3 separate regions of the Homo sapiens genome follow, and all the other regions are linked to region 1. Evidence: promoter capture Hi-C in 16 types of primary human blood cells and fetal thymus (Javierre and others, 2016). All regions are on one chromosome and are shown on one strand. Each heading gives the region's core, a stretch centred on a gene start or on the middle of the fragment in contact. The rest is flanking DNA. Distances are from core to core; before and after follow the strand shown. Region 1 overlaps PCMTD2 (protein-L-isoaspartate (D-aspartate) O-methyltransferase domain containing 2). Region 2 holds the start of SOX12 (SRY-box transcription factor 12). Region 3 holds the start of TRIB3 (tribbles pseudokinase 3).

Region 1 (4,901 bases), core at 1,318-3,817:
AGTCTGGCTCCGTTAGCCAGACTGGAGTGCAGTGGCACCATCTCTGCTCACTGTAACCTTCGCCTCCCAGGTTCAAGTGATTCTCCAGCCTCAGCCTCCTGAGTAGCTGGGATTATAGGTGTGCACCACCACACCCAGGTACTTTCTTATACTTTTGGTAGGGACAGGGTTTCACCACGTTGGCCAGGTTGGTCTTGAACTCCAGACCTCAAGCCATCTGCCTGCCTCGGCCTCCCAAAGTGCTGAGATTACAGGCGTGAGCCACCACGCCCCACCATTTCAGGCTTACTTTAAGTCATCTTTTCCTAAGCATTTTGGCTCTTTCCTATAGTATTTCTAATCTAGTCAGCTTGATCACCTATTTCTCCCCAAGGTTCTACCTTAGCTATAGCCCCTATTTTTCAGCTACGTTGGAGGAAATCACAATTCCCAAATTCAAAAATGATAAATAATCTGGGCACTGTGTTCTCTTCTCAAAGCACAGGGATCACAACAGTCTCAATTGAAGAGAAGTTACGGTCAAAAAGCATTATAAAAATCTACACACTTTTACACCTGAAGGTAGCAATCTATAGCATAAAGCCAAAATAATCGGTCTCAAAACTTCACCAAATTCCAATTTATACAGACTTAGAAAAAAAAAACAAAATTATCATTCCATATCCACAAAAATCAATTATAGACGGAGTCTCACTGTCACCTAGGCTGGAGTGCAGTGGTGCAATCATAGCTCACTGCAATCTTGAAGCGATCAAGCGATCCTCCGACCTCGGCTTCCCAAAGGGCTGGGATTACAGGCATGAACCACCAAGCCAAGCCACATTCCTGACGTTTCTTTCACAAGCATATACAGTCCACCCGTAAATCCTGTCAGTTCTAACAGGATTTAGAAAAAATACAGACTCCAGCTTCTCTGCACTGGTTTCATCCAGCGTCTTCTCAGCCAGCTTTGCCTCAGCAGCCTGGCCCCTGCTTCCTGTTTACAGATCAGCTCCTATCACCCCTCCGGCAAAACTTTTCCACCCTACTGAGTTAAAAACAGATGCCTTCCCCGCCCCTCACAGCATTTGGCACCAAGTGATGTTTTTCCTTAGTTATCTGCTATTATTAAAAATAGCCATATTTCCATGTGCAGTCTCACAACTCATTTGTTTGGAAAATAGGCTAAATAGCTTCATAGTGAAATCCCTTCCATCCCTGAAACTAATTTTAAAATCTACAGGTATTACTCTTAGTATTAAAACAAAAAAGTAGGCCAGGCATGGTGGCTCATGCCTGTAATCCCAGCACTTTGGGAGGCTGAGGCAGGTGGAGAGCTGGCGCCCAGGAGTTTGAGACCAGCCTGGGAAACATGGCGAGACCCCGTCTCTAAAAATCATTTAAACATCAGCCAGGGGTGGTGGTGCGTGCCTGTGGCCCTAGGTACTCAGGAGGATTTGCTGGATCCCAGGAGGTCAAGGCTACAGTGGGCCTTGCTCGTGTCACGGCACTCCAGCCTAGACGATGGGGCACAACTGTCAAAAAAAAAAAAAAAAAAAAACCAACAAAACAAAAACTGCTTAGAAGTACTCCGAAAGGACTTTCAAGTTAATTACCATCGATTTAGAGAAGGAGTGACAAGGAAGAATGAGTGATAAAATTAAATCGAGAAATCACAGTGGGGTCAAGATTTACACAACTGTCTTTATCCTCCGCTGTCCAGAGGGCAGGTGCGCAGTACAGGCTGTGGCAGCACAGGAAGAGGGGACAGAGAACAGGAGAGGTCCCTCTGGAGAATCCGGGGCCCATGAGATGCATGCAGGCCTTCCTCCCTCATCCCTCTATCCACCACCCAGTGATGTGTCAATGTCAGATAACTACTGGGAAGGCTGCGGTCTCGACCCAGGCAGGCCATTAGCAGACTACATTTTCTGTCAAAGGAGATGCCTCCTTCCCTGAGACAGATGAGTTTTCAGACTCTCCTTCCACACTTACCTAGAATGAGGCCCACCATGGAGCTGAGATACCCAGTGCCACTGCCCAGGTTCAGAAACGAGAGTCCAGGCTGCAGATCTAGGGCTTCCATCACCTCCGAGTAGATGCACGGGGCTGAGAGGTGAATGTTTCCATGCTTCCATGCCAAGTCTTTATAAGCATTTTCTTTAAATTCTTCAAGATAATAGTCTGCACGATCGATAGCTCTGAAAGCCTGCTCTACCAGCTCAGTCCGGATATACTGTGCTTCTTTCAAATTATCTATCAGCTCATCATTGTCTTCACCAGCACTCACAGCACCGCCCATGTTCAAGATTACACTTAGGCAATACTATAATTAAAAATGTTTAAAAAGAGCGATTTATGTTAAAGGTAAGAGCAGAACAATAGAAGTTCTAAACAGATACCAATTTGAAATTCTGAATTCTGAAAATAATAGATTATCTTTTGTCAACACCCACCTCATCCCCTGCCCCACCCAGAGATGCCAGATTTAGAAGGAAAAAAAATCCCAGTTCAATTGGAAATTAAGGTAAACAACAATACTAAAAGTTATTTGACGTTTATTTGAAATTCAAATTTAGGCCGGGTGCGGTGGGTCATGACTGTAATCCCAGCACTTTGGGAGGCCGAGGCAGTTGGATCACCTGAGGTCAGGAGTTCAAGAACAGCCTGGCCAACATGGTGAAACCCCGTCTCTACTAAAAAATACAAAAATTAGCCAGGCATGCTGGTGGATGCCTGTAATCCCAGCTACTGGCGAGGCTGAGGGAGAAGAATCACTTGAACCCGGGAGGCAGAGGTTGCAGTGATCAGAGCTCGTACCACTGCACTCCAGCTTGCGGAACAGAGCAAGACTCTGTCTCAAAAAAAAAAAAAAAAAAAAGAGAAAAGAAAAAAAACTTTAGGTGGTGTCCTATATTACATCTGGGAATTCTATATCCCCAACATACACAAAAGTACCCACCCAAGTCAAGCAATCCATCTGACCTGTTGATTTGGATATTTTGATGTTCAAATTTTAGACAAAAACAGCAAGAAAACACTCTTCCCAAATTGAACGTACTGTGACAAATACCTTTTTCTAACAAATGCAAAATCAGCTTCCTGGCTAAAGTTTAAGTGTAGGAGGGGCTGCTACCAGAACTTCCTACAGCCCCTCCTCAATTGCATGATACGCAGCTTTCCCAGCTCTTTAAAAATAACAACTACTTGTCTTACCTTCTCCCAACCTGCCTTCAAGAAGAAAAAGCACAGCATGTGTCACCTCTGAGCCTAACTATTAAAATACAGGGTAGCTTCAGCTAATTCACAAGAAAACACTTTTTCACGCGGAGAAGTCTTACTCTTCTTAAAACTACAAAAATATCCTTTCCAATTTTATACTTACCCCATGTAACTTTTTCAAAGTAACTGCTTTAACTTCATATAAAATGGTAATGCTTTACAAAACACCAGATACAAATTGTCAGGGAAAAAGACCACCAGACCTCATGAAGACATTTTCTGAAATGAACACAACCTTTTTAACAACTTGTTATAATTATGATGAAGTTTATACTTGCTTTCCTCCTCACATTCCTCTGGATTTCTAACAGTAGAATGAGGATCGTAAAGAAATACTGTGGGGTGACAAGGGGCCTGGGGCGGATTTCATACACACCCACGTACACAACTGGAGACAGCGGTGGGAGGTTTTCCCAGGAATGAAAATAATCACATAGTTTCTTACAAGTGAACAAAAAGTGTGAAGGGTATAGCTTAACACAAATTCTCTTCTATTTTTATGGTGGAACACTCAATCTTCACACTCAAGATTTTAGAGCTGAATATTAGGTTTTGCAAATCAATAGGATGGTCCAGTCATTAAATTTTCACACCCTTTTTGAATTTTTTGAATTGTTTCGGAGCCCTTGTTAGATTACGGTCCACAGCCAGCTGACTTAGACTTAGATGGAATTAAGTCCTAATGAGGTCAACTTTAATCCTGGATAAGCCACTCAGTTCTGAGGCTGCACCCTAGCCTACCACAGTCATCTTAAAATTTGGGTCAGTGGTTAAAAGCGGAATCATGTGTTTGGATGCTTAAGGGTCTATTTAGGAAAAGAGCTGGAAAATCGCATACCGTCCTCAGTCAAAGCCACCTCTTCACCCAGAAGCCTGTATATAATGTTCCAACATTGTCTCAATGCCACATCTCTAGAAGGTAACCTCAAACTGTATGTTGGATAGGTTTCATTTTCCACTAAGTAACTATCACTTATTTTGAACTCTGCCTTAATTTGAAAGTTCAGACAGCTTTTTAGTAAAAACAAGCACCTTTTTCCAGGTACCACCTGCCAGTCATGGCCTCATTTACACTTCACAACATTAAGAAGCAAATTGGAGCTGGCCGGTTAATTTGTTCATGATCACATAGCCAGTTTGTGAGGAGGGGGCTGCATTCAAACCCAGGACTGTATGGCAAAAGGCCTGTGTTTTTAATACCACACCAGTGCAGCTTTTAAAAATACTCAAGACAGCAACGTTCTTTACCACACAACACACCGGTAACCTTTTGACGATGGGGTAACCCTATCTATACCTATTGCCACTGGTAGGATCCATGTGAATAGCTGTGGGGTCTGATATTTATTACCATCTTTGTCTGGTAATCTAACACTCCCTCGCACTGAAAACCATCGATATGATCAGTCATGATGTCACCAAAAACACCGACAACAAAGCTCTTCGCCAAACCAAATCCTATCATTTTCACCCAGATTCTACAATCTGGTCAAATCCAATTTTTCAAAGTAAAAGTGTAGAATCATTTTTAGAACGCTGCACTCGATGATACTGTGCACATTGTCTGCTGTAATTAATCCTTAATATAATTCACTACTCTGTGGTAACTAGCAACAGTCCATAACAACCTGGCTGCTCCT
Region 2 (4,901 bases), core at 1,726-4,225, about 64 Mb after region 1:
AAAAAAAAATAGAGCGCAAGAAAGGCCCAGAGCCGGAGCACCAAGCTTAAAGGAGGCAGCTGGTGGCTTTGTCAGCGACGGGAACGCGTGGGGCAGAGACCTGCAGAGACCCTGGGCAGGGGTCCGGAGGACTCTGGGACCGTTTGTTCCTGAGATTTGTGTGTGTGAATGAGAGTGTGTGAGCCACCCGGGAGGGTGAACACACGCCGGTGAGATACAGGTAGTGAGGGCAAGGGGGGTGTGGGGAGGCCGGAGGGGCGGGGCGGGGCAGAGAGATGGCGGCGTGAGAGGGGCCACAGCAACAGGGACAGGGCTCCCGAGGGCACCCTGAACTGGACACAACTTCCTCCTAACAGCAGCGTTCTCCCCATTTCTCACGTGGAAAAACCGAGGTGCAAACGGCCCATCACTACTCGGAATCCATTCTCAGTCTCACTGGCCAAGTCGATGGTCTCTCCCAAACCAGATGTTTAAAAGCGAGAGTCTTCCTGCCATCACATCTGCTCTCCACGCCTCAGTCCCAAACCCCTAGCACCAAAGTGCCTCAGTTTTTCCCGCTGTATACTGCAGCTTGAGTACTGAGGGTGGACCTGGGTGACAGGAAGGGCCGGTGCGCTCAGGGAGGAGCCCAGGTTGCGGGTGCCCTGAGGTGAGGGGGCACTTCCCAGGAGGGGGTGGGGAAGGTGCAGCAGGGATCCTGTCCCCAGACAGACTGGTAAGGTGCCTTGGTTTTTAGTTTTCTTGGGTGGTCCCTTCCTCTACTGCTGGATTTCCAGAGAAAGACCTTACCTCTCAATTCCCAGTTGGGGGGAAAAAGGGACGTATAGGTAGGCTGTAGAGGCAGCCACGCGACCGGAGAGGTGGTGCGCGTGGGTGTAGGAGACCCCATACCGGAAAAGGGGCTATGCCACTTGGGAGAGTTTCAGGCCCAAACCAACCCTTCCGAGTGCTCCTCCCATTAAGGCAGCGACGCCCCGTTGGCTGGAGAGGAAACCTAGGGCTCCCGGATCAAAGGATTTCCCAGGATCGCTCTACACTCGCCCCCGCTTTTGCCCGGAGCGGGCGAAGAGTGCGGCTCCGCTGGGACCAGCCCCCTCCTCCCCAGAAGCATTAAGCATGCGCACGAAGGGGGTGGGCCCCAGCGGAGGGGCGGGCCCTAGCGCTCCGGGGATAAAAGGGGTGCGCCCCTCCCCCCAGGGAAGGGAGGGGCGCAGGAGGCGCGTGCGTTGCCACCCGGCCGCATCGCCCCCCTAACCCAGAGAAGGCGGGCCGGGCGAGGGAGGAGAGATTCCGGAGCAAAGGAGGGGGCGGGTCCTCCGGCCACGAGGAGGGGCGTGTGCAAAAGGGGGGAGGGGTGCAGGTCTGTAGGAGAGGACGGGAGGTGTATCGGAGGGGGCTGGCTGCTGGTGGCTGTGCAGGAGGGGGCGACGTGGGGAGGGGCTTGGGTGTCGGGGAAGGGGTGGGGGTTGGGCTGCCTTGGGGTGTGTCTGCGGGGGAGGGGCATGTCTGGATCTGAGGGGGGATGGGCACGTCCAGGAGGGGGCAGGCTGCGCGGGAGATGGGGTGCCAGCCTCGGCCTCCGAGGGGCCCCAATACCTGATTCCTGTATGTAAACAGCTGGTTTGGGGGCGTGCGCGCCCCGCTGACGGTGGGCTCAGTAGGTGAAAACCAGGTCTGCGATGCTAGACGGGCGCCAGTCCCCCGCGATCATCTCGGTAACCTCGGGGGTGCAGTAGTCCGGGAACTCGAAGTGCGACGTGCCCGAGGGAGGCTGCAGGTCCGGGTCGCGATCCAGGGCGCTGCAGTCCAGGCCGGCCGGGCCAGGGGGCAGCCTGGACAGAAAGCCCAGCGACTCCTCCCCCGACGCCACCGTCTCCTCTTCACCTTCCTCAGCCGCTGCCGCCTCCTCCTCCTCTTCCTCCGGCTCCTCGTCCTCCGACGGTGTCGGGGAGGCGGCGGCGGCGGCGGCCGCCCCCTCGCCCGACGGCCCTTGGGCGCGCTCCGCTTGTCCCCGAGCGGCCCGTCCCGCCGGGACCATCCTCCACAGCTCCCGCCCCGGGGTCTCGACCAGGCGCACTTCCAGCAGCTCCTCGTCGTCGTCTTCATCGTCGTCCTCGGGCGCCGCCGCCCCGCCCCCCAAAGGCCCTCCCGCTGCTCGGCGGCCCCCGCGGCCAGGCAGCTGCGGCCCGGGCTTGAGCCGGCTGCCGCCACCGCTACCACCGGGGGGGCGGGGCCGCGCCTTGGCGGGCGCCCCCTTGCTCTTTTTGCGCGGCCGGTACTTGTAGTCCGGGTAATCCGCCATGTGCTTGAGCCGCAGCCGCTCCGCCTCCCGCACGAACGGGATCTTCTCCGAGTCCTGCAGCAGCTGCCAGCGGCGGCCCAGGCGCTTGGAGATCTCGGCGTTGTGCATGTCGGGCCACTGGTCCATGATCTTCCGCCGTTCGTGCTGCGACCACACCATGAATGCGTTCATCGGCCTCTTGATGTGGCCGCTCGGGGTCTTGCACCAGCCGGGCTCGCGCGCCCCCTCCTCGGCCGGCCCGGGTCCCGGGGGCGGCGGCCCGCCGTCCCGCTTGGCCCTCGCGCCCCGCTGCTGCACCATCGCGCCTGGGCCCGGGGCCGCTAGACGCCGCCGGGGGCCGTCCGCATCCTCCGCGGCTGGGGGTGGGGGAGGAGGCAGCGGCGACGGAGGGGCGGCCCCGCCCCGCGGCTCGGCCCGGCCCCCGCGAACTGGGGAGCGAGGAGCTGGGCGCTCGGGCCCAACGGACGGCGGGGGGAGAAGGTCAGCGCGGTCTCAGGCGGGCTCGGCGCGCCCCCGCCGCCTCCGGCAAGTTGCGTCCTGGCTCACAACACACATTGTTTTGCGGGGGCCGAGGAATCGCACCCTCCGGGCCCCCGCGGGCTCTTCCTGCAGCCTCTGGCTCCGCCGCGGCCCGCGCGCGCCGCTCCCCGCCCGGCCGCCGACGCCTTTCAGTGTCTTTCTCCCCGCGCGGCCCCGCCGGCGCGCGCACCACCCCTCCCCCTCGCCGTCTGCGGGCCGCTGCGGCGCGCGCGGGGCCGCCCCGTGTAAACACCGAGGTGCCCGCTTGGGCTGCGGCCGGGCCCCGCCTCGCGCTCGGGCGCCGCGTCACCCGTTGCTGGGCAGAGAAGCCGGTATTTGCATCTCCCAATCGCTGGCCGCCGGAGCGGGGCGGGGCTCGGGCTGCGGGGCTGGGCGGTCTCGCGGCTAGGATTGGGGGAGACCGGCGAGATCGGTTTCTTTTCTTAGGTTAGGGGTTGGAGGAAGGGTAGGGGACGCGAGCCTGCTTCCATCTGACGCTGGACGCTTGTCCCTGCCCCGCGTTGCCTTTTAAATTTTAGCTCATTCCGAGACACCTGCCGTCAGGTAGGATTTCCGCCCTTTCCTCTTTCAGGGACGTCTTTTCGGACCATCCCAGAAGAGAATTTGGGGGGCCCAAGACTCAGGAAAGCTTCTTAAGGGGACGAACTCAGGTTGTCGTAGATGTTGCCCCCCGCCTACTACACACAGGGTCCGACCACATATGGGACCAGCAAATGCTTTTGGACCTAGTGAACAAATCCCTTTCTCATATATATGTATATTTAATCTCGTTCGAAGCTCCATAAGAATCCGGAGGGAGAAGGGAATATGATAATATGATGCCCAGTTTCCAAATAGGAAGCACCGAGGACACGCAGACTAGGATTCGATTCCCAGGCTCGCGGTCCCAGCTGTCTCTCCCCTGCTCAGCACCAAGGGCCGCGGGGCACCTCGCCTGCCAGCCAAAGGTCCTGAGCTGGGCGGACTTCCCGCTTTTCACAAACCGCAGGCGACATTCGAGGATGCGTGGGTGCGCCATTCCCAGGTCCTACCCCACCCCGTAGCCTGCCCGGTGCCCGACTTGGGCGCGTCGCCCCACCCAAGCCTGGAGAAGCGTGCAGGGGCACGGGGCGGAGCCAGTCCTGGGGGCGTGGCCGGGTGGCCGGCACGAGGCGCGTGGCGGGGAGGGGCCGCGCGCTCCCGGCTCACCACGTGTGAGCCAGTTCGGGCACCACTGGGCGTGTGCCGCCCCTGGGGGAGGTCACCTTCACGGCGTCGTGAGCATGGGCGATGGGAGGGGGCGCTGAGGCCTCGCCCTTGGGAAGCAGGAGCTGGGAGGTGCCCGGATTAGGGTCTTTAAGGTGGCATTCCGCTGGGGCGTAGCGGGCATGGTTTGGGGCTAGGAGAATGCGCCTCTGGCGGTACAGCTCACCCACTTCTGGACGAGCGAAGGCCAAGAGCCGAGCTTGAGGGTGTGGGGCGGGGAGGAAGGACCGAGGTGCGGCTCCGCGGCGCGGGGGGCGGGGTGGGGGTGGTGGGGAGAAAGAAATTGGAGCATCCCTGGAGGGAGGGGGCGACTCTTAAAGGCACAGGGTGCTTGGAAGAGGAGGCCCTGCTCCCGTCCAAACGGTCCCTCCGCCTTTCAGAAGCTGAGATCTGGAAAAGCCTACGTGTAAAACCTTTACATCTGCAGCCTGAGCAGTCTACCCGATGGAGTCACACTTCCTGAGTTCACATTCCCAGTCCCTCCTTTTCCTTATCCTGAAAATGGGGATAATTCAGTTTCTCCCTCACATGGTGGTTTTACAGATTAAATGAGATAATGCATGTAAACACATCCTGATACCTAGGCAATGTTCAATAAAACTTATGATAGACGGGACGCGGTGGCTCACACCTGTAATCCCAGCACTTTGGGAAGCCAAGGCGGGCGGATCATTTGAGGTCAGAAGTTCGAGATCCGCCTGGCCGATATGGTGAAACCTTGTCTCTACTAAAAGTACAAAATAATGAGTCAGGCTTGGTGACGCGTACCTGTAATCCCAGCTACTCAGGAGACTGAGGTATGAGAATCGCTTGA
Region 3 (4,901 bases), core at 874-3,373, about 64 Mb after region 1:
TGGAAGGGAAGGCCTCCCCACATGAGTGAAAGGTCATGACTTTGGCTTGGTAAGAATGCAGTAAGGAGTGGCTGTAGTCAGATATTCCTGGGTTCTAATCCTGTCTCAAACCCTTTCTAGCTGGGGGGTACCCCTGGTCAAGTTCCTCAAGCTTTCTGAGCCTCAGTTCCTGTAAAGTGGGAACAGGATGCAAAGCTTACAGGTTTTTCGTGATGATGAAATGAAAACACAAATGAAGCATGTAGAGCTTATGGACCTGTTGCCAGGTAGGTGTCAGGAAATGGTCATTATTAGCACTCATCCTGTTATTCTTCACAGCAAGATGCATAAGTACCATCCTTGGGAGTCTTAGAAAGCTCCCCAGGTTCGAGGCTGGGATGACACTCCTTACATCTCAAGGCTGTTCTGAGTCACGCAGGATGATACCTGGCTGTGCACATGCTTTGTGCCCTGTGCAGCAGGAGACTGCCTGGAGTCCCTCTGGCCTGTGCCACATCAGTAGTCCAGGCTGCCTTGGCCCCGGCCATCCCTCAGAGCCTGTTGGGGCCTGGGATAAGCTCCACCCAGATGGGGACAGATGCGGTAACTGAGTCTATACATCTTGGGCAAGGCATTTTGCAGACCACACTGCAGAATAGAATCTGTGATGTGGAATGAAAGCAGCCCCTAATATCTACCTCTTGCTGTTCCCTGCCACACTCGGGACCCAGGGAAATGAGGGCGGGTTACATCAAGCGCAAGCGCGCGCGCGCACGCACACACACACACACACACACACACACAGCCCTCCCAGCTGTCACACCCATGGTCTACCCGAGCAAGGCCGCACCCCCACCCCGCCCCGCCCCCCGCAGCCAGGCCCCTCCCGTGGGAGCCCAAGCGAAAGGCGGCGGGTGTCCGAGTCAGAAGTTTCAGCGGAAATTGAAGCGCGGCCCTGGGACAGGAGGGGGGTGAGGCAGAGGGAAGGAGGTGGCTGTCGTCCCCCGCCCTCCCCGGTCTGCAGGCACAGCACACACCGCAGACACGCGCGCACCGTCCACCTGCAAACCCGGAGCCGCGCACTGGGGAGAACCAGCGGCCCTGCCGGGCCAGAGATCGCGCGCTGCGCCCCCGCTCCCACTCCCTCGGCTCCCCCGCTCCAGGGCACCCCAGCCCTGTCCCGGCGGTGTCCCCTGCACCGCCAACCCCTGCCACCAAGTGCCCAGCCCTCCAGACAGCTCTCACCATCTCCTGAGACACAGGTGCTCGGGACCCACCCTCACCCAGGACTCTCCCCTGCGGGTTCACGAGGACCCCCTCGGATCCCCCGCCACCCCCAGAGTCCTCCAGTGCCCCCCACAAGCCCCTCACCGCACCACACGACTCCCCTATCCCGCACTCACGCAAAACAGACCCCCGCACGCCCTCCTCTAGGGGTGACGGCCGGACACCTCCGTCCCTGGCTTCCCCAGCCCAACTCGGGCGACCCCACGCTCCGCGGGGCCGCGTCACCTGAAGCCCGGGGGGAGCACTCAGCCCAGGCCCGGATCAAAAGGGATCTGACCTGGCCGCGCCCCGACGGCGGGGTCTGTGAAAAGGTGTGTAAGGGGCGTGCGTGCGTGTAACACGCGGCAACACGCAGACGCCCAGAGGCTTCCGGCGCCCCCTTCCCCGGCCGCCCCCTCCCGCCCCCCGGCCTCCGGGCGAGTCCGCAGGCCGCACCCCGCCGAGTACCTCGCCCCGTCGTTCCGCGTGGGCCCGGGCGCCGCCGGGGCTCAGAGCCTCCAGGGCACCAGCAGGTGGGCCGGCCCGCTGCGCTGCTGCCGAGCTCGGGATCCCAGCCCAGCTCCAGCCCTGCCCGGGTCCTAGCAGCGGACGCGCGCGGAGCCGCCTCCACTTCCGCTGCGAGTCTCGTGCGCGCCCGGCCCCCGGTCCGGGTGATGCAAACCGGAGCTAATCCCCCGGTCCGGGTGATGCAAACCGGAGCTAATCCCCCGGTCCGGGTGATGCAAACCGGAGCTAATCAGCCGCCGTCTGATGCCCTCGGGCCCGGGATCGCACCATCCCCCGCGCCGCGCCCGGGCCTCTCTCCTCTGCATCCGCTGCACCTGGGACCCGCCCTCGCTGGCCCCCTAGGGGCGTCTGGTCAGTGCAGACATCAGCCACGGACTCTCCCTATCACCTTGGAAAAAAAATTTGCTCTTTTTTTTTTTTTTTTTGAGACAGAGTCTTGCTCTGTCGCCCAGGCTGGAGGGCGGTGGCGCGATCTCGGCTCACTGCAAGCTCCGCCTCCCGGGTTCACGCCATTCTCCTGCCTCAGCCTCCCGAGTAGCTGGGACTACAGGCGCCCGCACCACGCCCGGCTAATTTTTTGTATTTTTAGTAGAGACGGGGTTTCACCTTGTTAGCCAGGATGGTCTCGATCTCCTGACCTCGTGATCCACCCGCCTCGGCCTCCCAAAGTGCTGGGATTACAGGCGTGAGCCACCGCGCCCGGCCAAAAATTTGCTCTTCTGAGCCTCGGTTTCCCCACCTATGAAATGGGAAGAACATTCCTCCTTCTCAGGATGGTGCTTAAAAGAGCAAACAGTGACTGTTGTCGGGGTGCTTCCCCTTTTTTATAAAGCACATTCCCAGCACTGCCTTATAAAACCTTTAGGAGAAGTGGACATGCGGGAATCTCCATTCTCCACATTCTACTGAGAGCCAGCCTGAGGCCCAGCTATGGGCAAGTGGTTCAGAAGCTTCAGGAAGGCCTATGGACTTAAGAGCTGACTCTGGGCTCAAAGGAACCACCGTGGCGCCCTTGGGAGGCCTAAGGTCTGCTGAGCTTCCCCGCGTCCCTTTGCTAGAGGCAGTGCGGCCTAGTGGTGAAGAGCCCCTAGAGCCAGCTGGCCTAAGAGTGCACTCCACCTCCGCTCCAACCCACAGTGCTACCCCAGAAAAGCTACCTAAAACCCTGCCTCAACTTCCTGCTCCATAAAATGGGCTCATAATTGCGCTCACTTCATAAAGTTGTTGTGAGGATTAAATAATTTAATATGTGTAAGACGCTTAGAACAGTGTGTGGCACATTGCGGATGCTCAGTGGAGTGTAAACAATGGAGACAGAGAGGGAAAGAGGCCTTTAATATGCTTGCACCCAAGGCCTGGGAGGGCTTGGTGCTACTTGATTTGGGGTGAAACACCCCTCTGCGTCCTAGGCGTCCAGCACCTTTCTTTTTTTTTCTTTTTTTGAGGCAGAGTTTCACTCGTTGCCCAGGATTGAGTGCGATGGCACGATCTCGGCTCACTGCAACCTCCACCTCCCGGGTTCAAGCGATTCTCCTGCCTCAGCCTCCCAAGTAGCTGGGATTACAGGCATGCGCTACTATGCCTGGCTAATTTTGTATTTTTAGTAGAGACAGGGTTTCTCCATGTTGGTCAGGCTGGTCTCGAACTCCTGACCTCAGATAATCCACCTGCCTCGGCCTCCCAAAGTGCTGAGATTACAGGCATGAGCCACCGCGCCCGGCCTGGGTCCAGCACCTTTCTTAGAAATCCCTTTTGATCTGAATTCACCAGTGTCAAAAAATAACTCCTCAGCTGGGTGAGCTGGCTCATGTCTGTAATCCTAGCACTTTGGGAGGCCAAGACGGGAGGATTGCTTGAGGCCAGGAGTTTGAGAACAGCCTGGATGACATAGTAAGACCCTGTCTTTACAAAGAGAAAAAGATAGCGGGCATGGTGGTACGAGCTTGTGGTCCCAGCTACTTAGGAAGCTGAGGTAGGAGGATCACTTGAGCCCAGGAGTTCAGGTTACAGTGAAACGTGATTGTGCCACTGCACTCCAGGTTGGGTGACAGAGTGAGATCCTGTGTAATAAATAAATAAGTAAGTAAGTAAAATAACTCCTCTAGAGGCTGGGCGTGGTGGCTTATGCCTGTAATCCCAGCACTTTGGGAGGCTGAGGCAGGTGGATCACGAGGTCGGGAGATCAAGACCATCCTGGCTAACACGGTGAAACCCGTTTCTACTAAAAGTACAAAAAATTACTAAAAATACAAAAAACACACCTGTAGTCCCAGCTACTCGGGAGGCTGAGGCAGGAGAATCGCTTGAACCCAGGAGGCAGGAGTTGCAATGAGCTGAGATTGCGCCATTGCACTCCAGCCTGGGCGACAGAGCAAGACTCCGTCTCAAAAAAAAAAAAAAAGTAAAATAAAATAAAATAACTCCTCTAGGCAGAGGCTGGATGGGAGGCAGGGTGGAGTCATATTTGTTTTCCTGTTTCCAAATCCCTGGGGACCAGCTCACCTGTGTCCCAGAGCCTTCAGGGTATACCAGGGCATTCTGGGATCTCATTTAATCCTGGCAACTCCCCTGCTGGGGAGGGGTGAATAAACTCATCCTCTATCCTGGGACACCGAAATGGTTAGGAAGATCCCACAGCTGTGAGGGGTGAAGAAAGGTGGGAGGGCTGTTTCCTGAGCACCCCTCTGAAGGTGTGCTGGGTTTGCTTGTACATTCCCAACTAACGTTGTTTTGTGCTGTGTCAGCCCCTGTTCTAAATGCTGGGGACTCAGCAGTGACCAGAATGATCCACCCCTGCTCTTACAAATCTTATAAATCAGTGGAGAGATAGACCATTATCAGGAAAATAAAATTAAAACCATGATCATTTAAAATAGATTGCATCATGCATTTTCTTGAATAAAATAGGAAAGACTTGTTCTCCGTCATGACTGAGGGTGGCCATTTTCAGCAGGGCTTATCAGAAAGGTGATGTTTAAACTAAAAGCTGAGGGAAGAGAAGGGGTGAAGAGTGCAAAGATGTGAAAGGGAGACAGAGAAAAACAGTAAGTCACCTCCATTCTGCAGACAAGAAGAGTTAAGGTAAGGGACCTACCCAAGACCACCCAGCTGGTCGTATAAGACTGATT

Evidence for each region. The method cuts DNA at HindIII sites, captures the fragments that hold promoters and counts their contacts. A CHiCAGO score of 5 or more calls a contact.
Region 2: the fragment with the promoter of SOX12 here is called in contact with a fragment that was not itself captured in region 1 in 1 of 17 cell types (fetal thymus); the score reaches 11.9 in fetal thymus.
Region 3: the fragment with the promoter of TRIB3 here is called in contact with a fragment that was not itself captured in region 1 in 1 of 17 cell types (total CD8 T cells); the score reaches 5.2 in total CD8 T cells.

The regions. Positions count from the first base shown.
Region 1 is chr20:64,257,346-64,262,246 of GRCh38, reverse strand. PCMTD2 (protein-L-isoaspartate (D-aspartate) O-methyltransferase domain containing 2) reads right to left here. Exons shown (of 6, transcript NM_018257.3): 2 at 1,975-2,305. The coding sequence starts at 2,281. Among named protein-coding and RNA genes, the nearest start is that of PCMTD2, 4.0 kb to the right of the region's middle. The HindIII fragment of the contact is 5,734 bases long and covers 1-4,901 here.
Region 2 is chr20:323,626-328,526 of GRCh38, reverse strand. SOX12 (SRY-box transcription factor 12) reads right to left here and starts at 2,975. Exons shown (of 1, transcript NM_006943.4): 1 at 1-2,975. The coding sequence starts at 2,602. The coding sequence ends at 1,655. NRSN2-AS1 (NRSN2 antisense RNA 1) reads left to right here and starts at 3,275. Exons shown (of 3, transcript NR_109990.1): 1 at 3,275-3,385. RefSeq lists silencers at 1,846-2,335, 2,356-2,415, 2,486-2,865, 2,976-3,285, 3,846-4,105 and 2 more. The HindIII fragment of the contact is 3,425 bases long and covers 48-3,472 here.
Region 3 is chr20:377,982-382,882 of GRCh38, reverse strand. It overlaps TRIB3 (tribbles pseudokinase 3), which reads right to left and starts at 2,123. Exons shown (of 4, transcript NM_021158.5): 1 at 1,714-2,123. RefSeq lists an enhancer at 6-1,004 and silencers at 690-1,279, 1,550-1,659, 1,680-1,839. The HindIII fragment of the contact is 2,528 bases long and covers 198-2,725 here.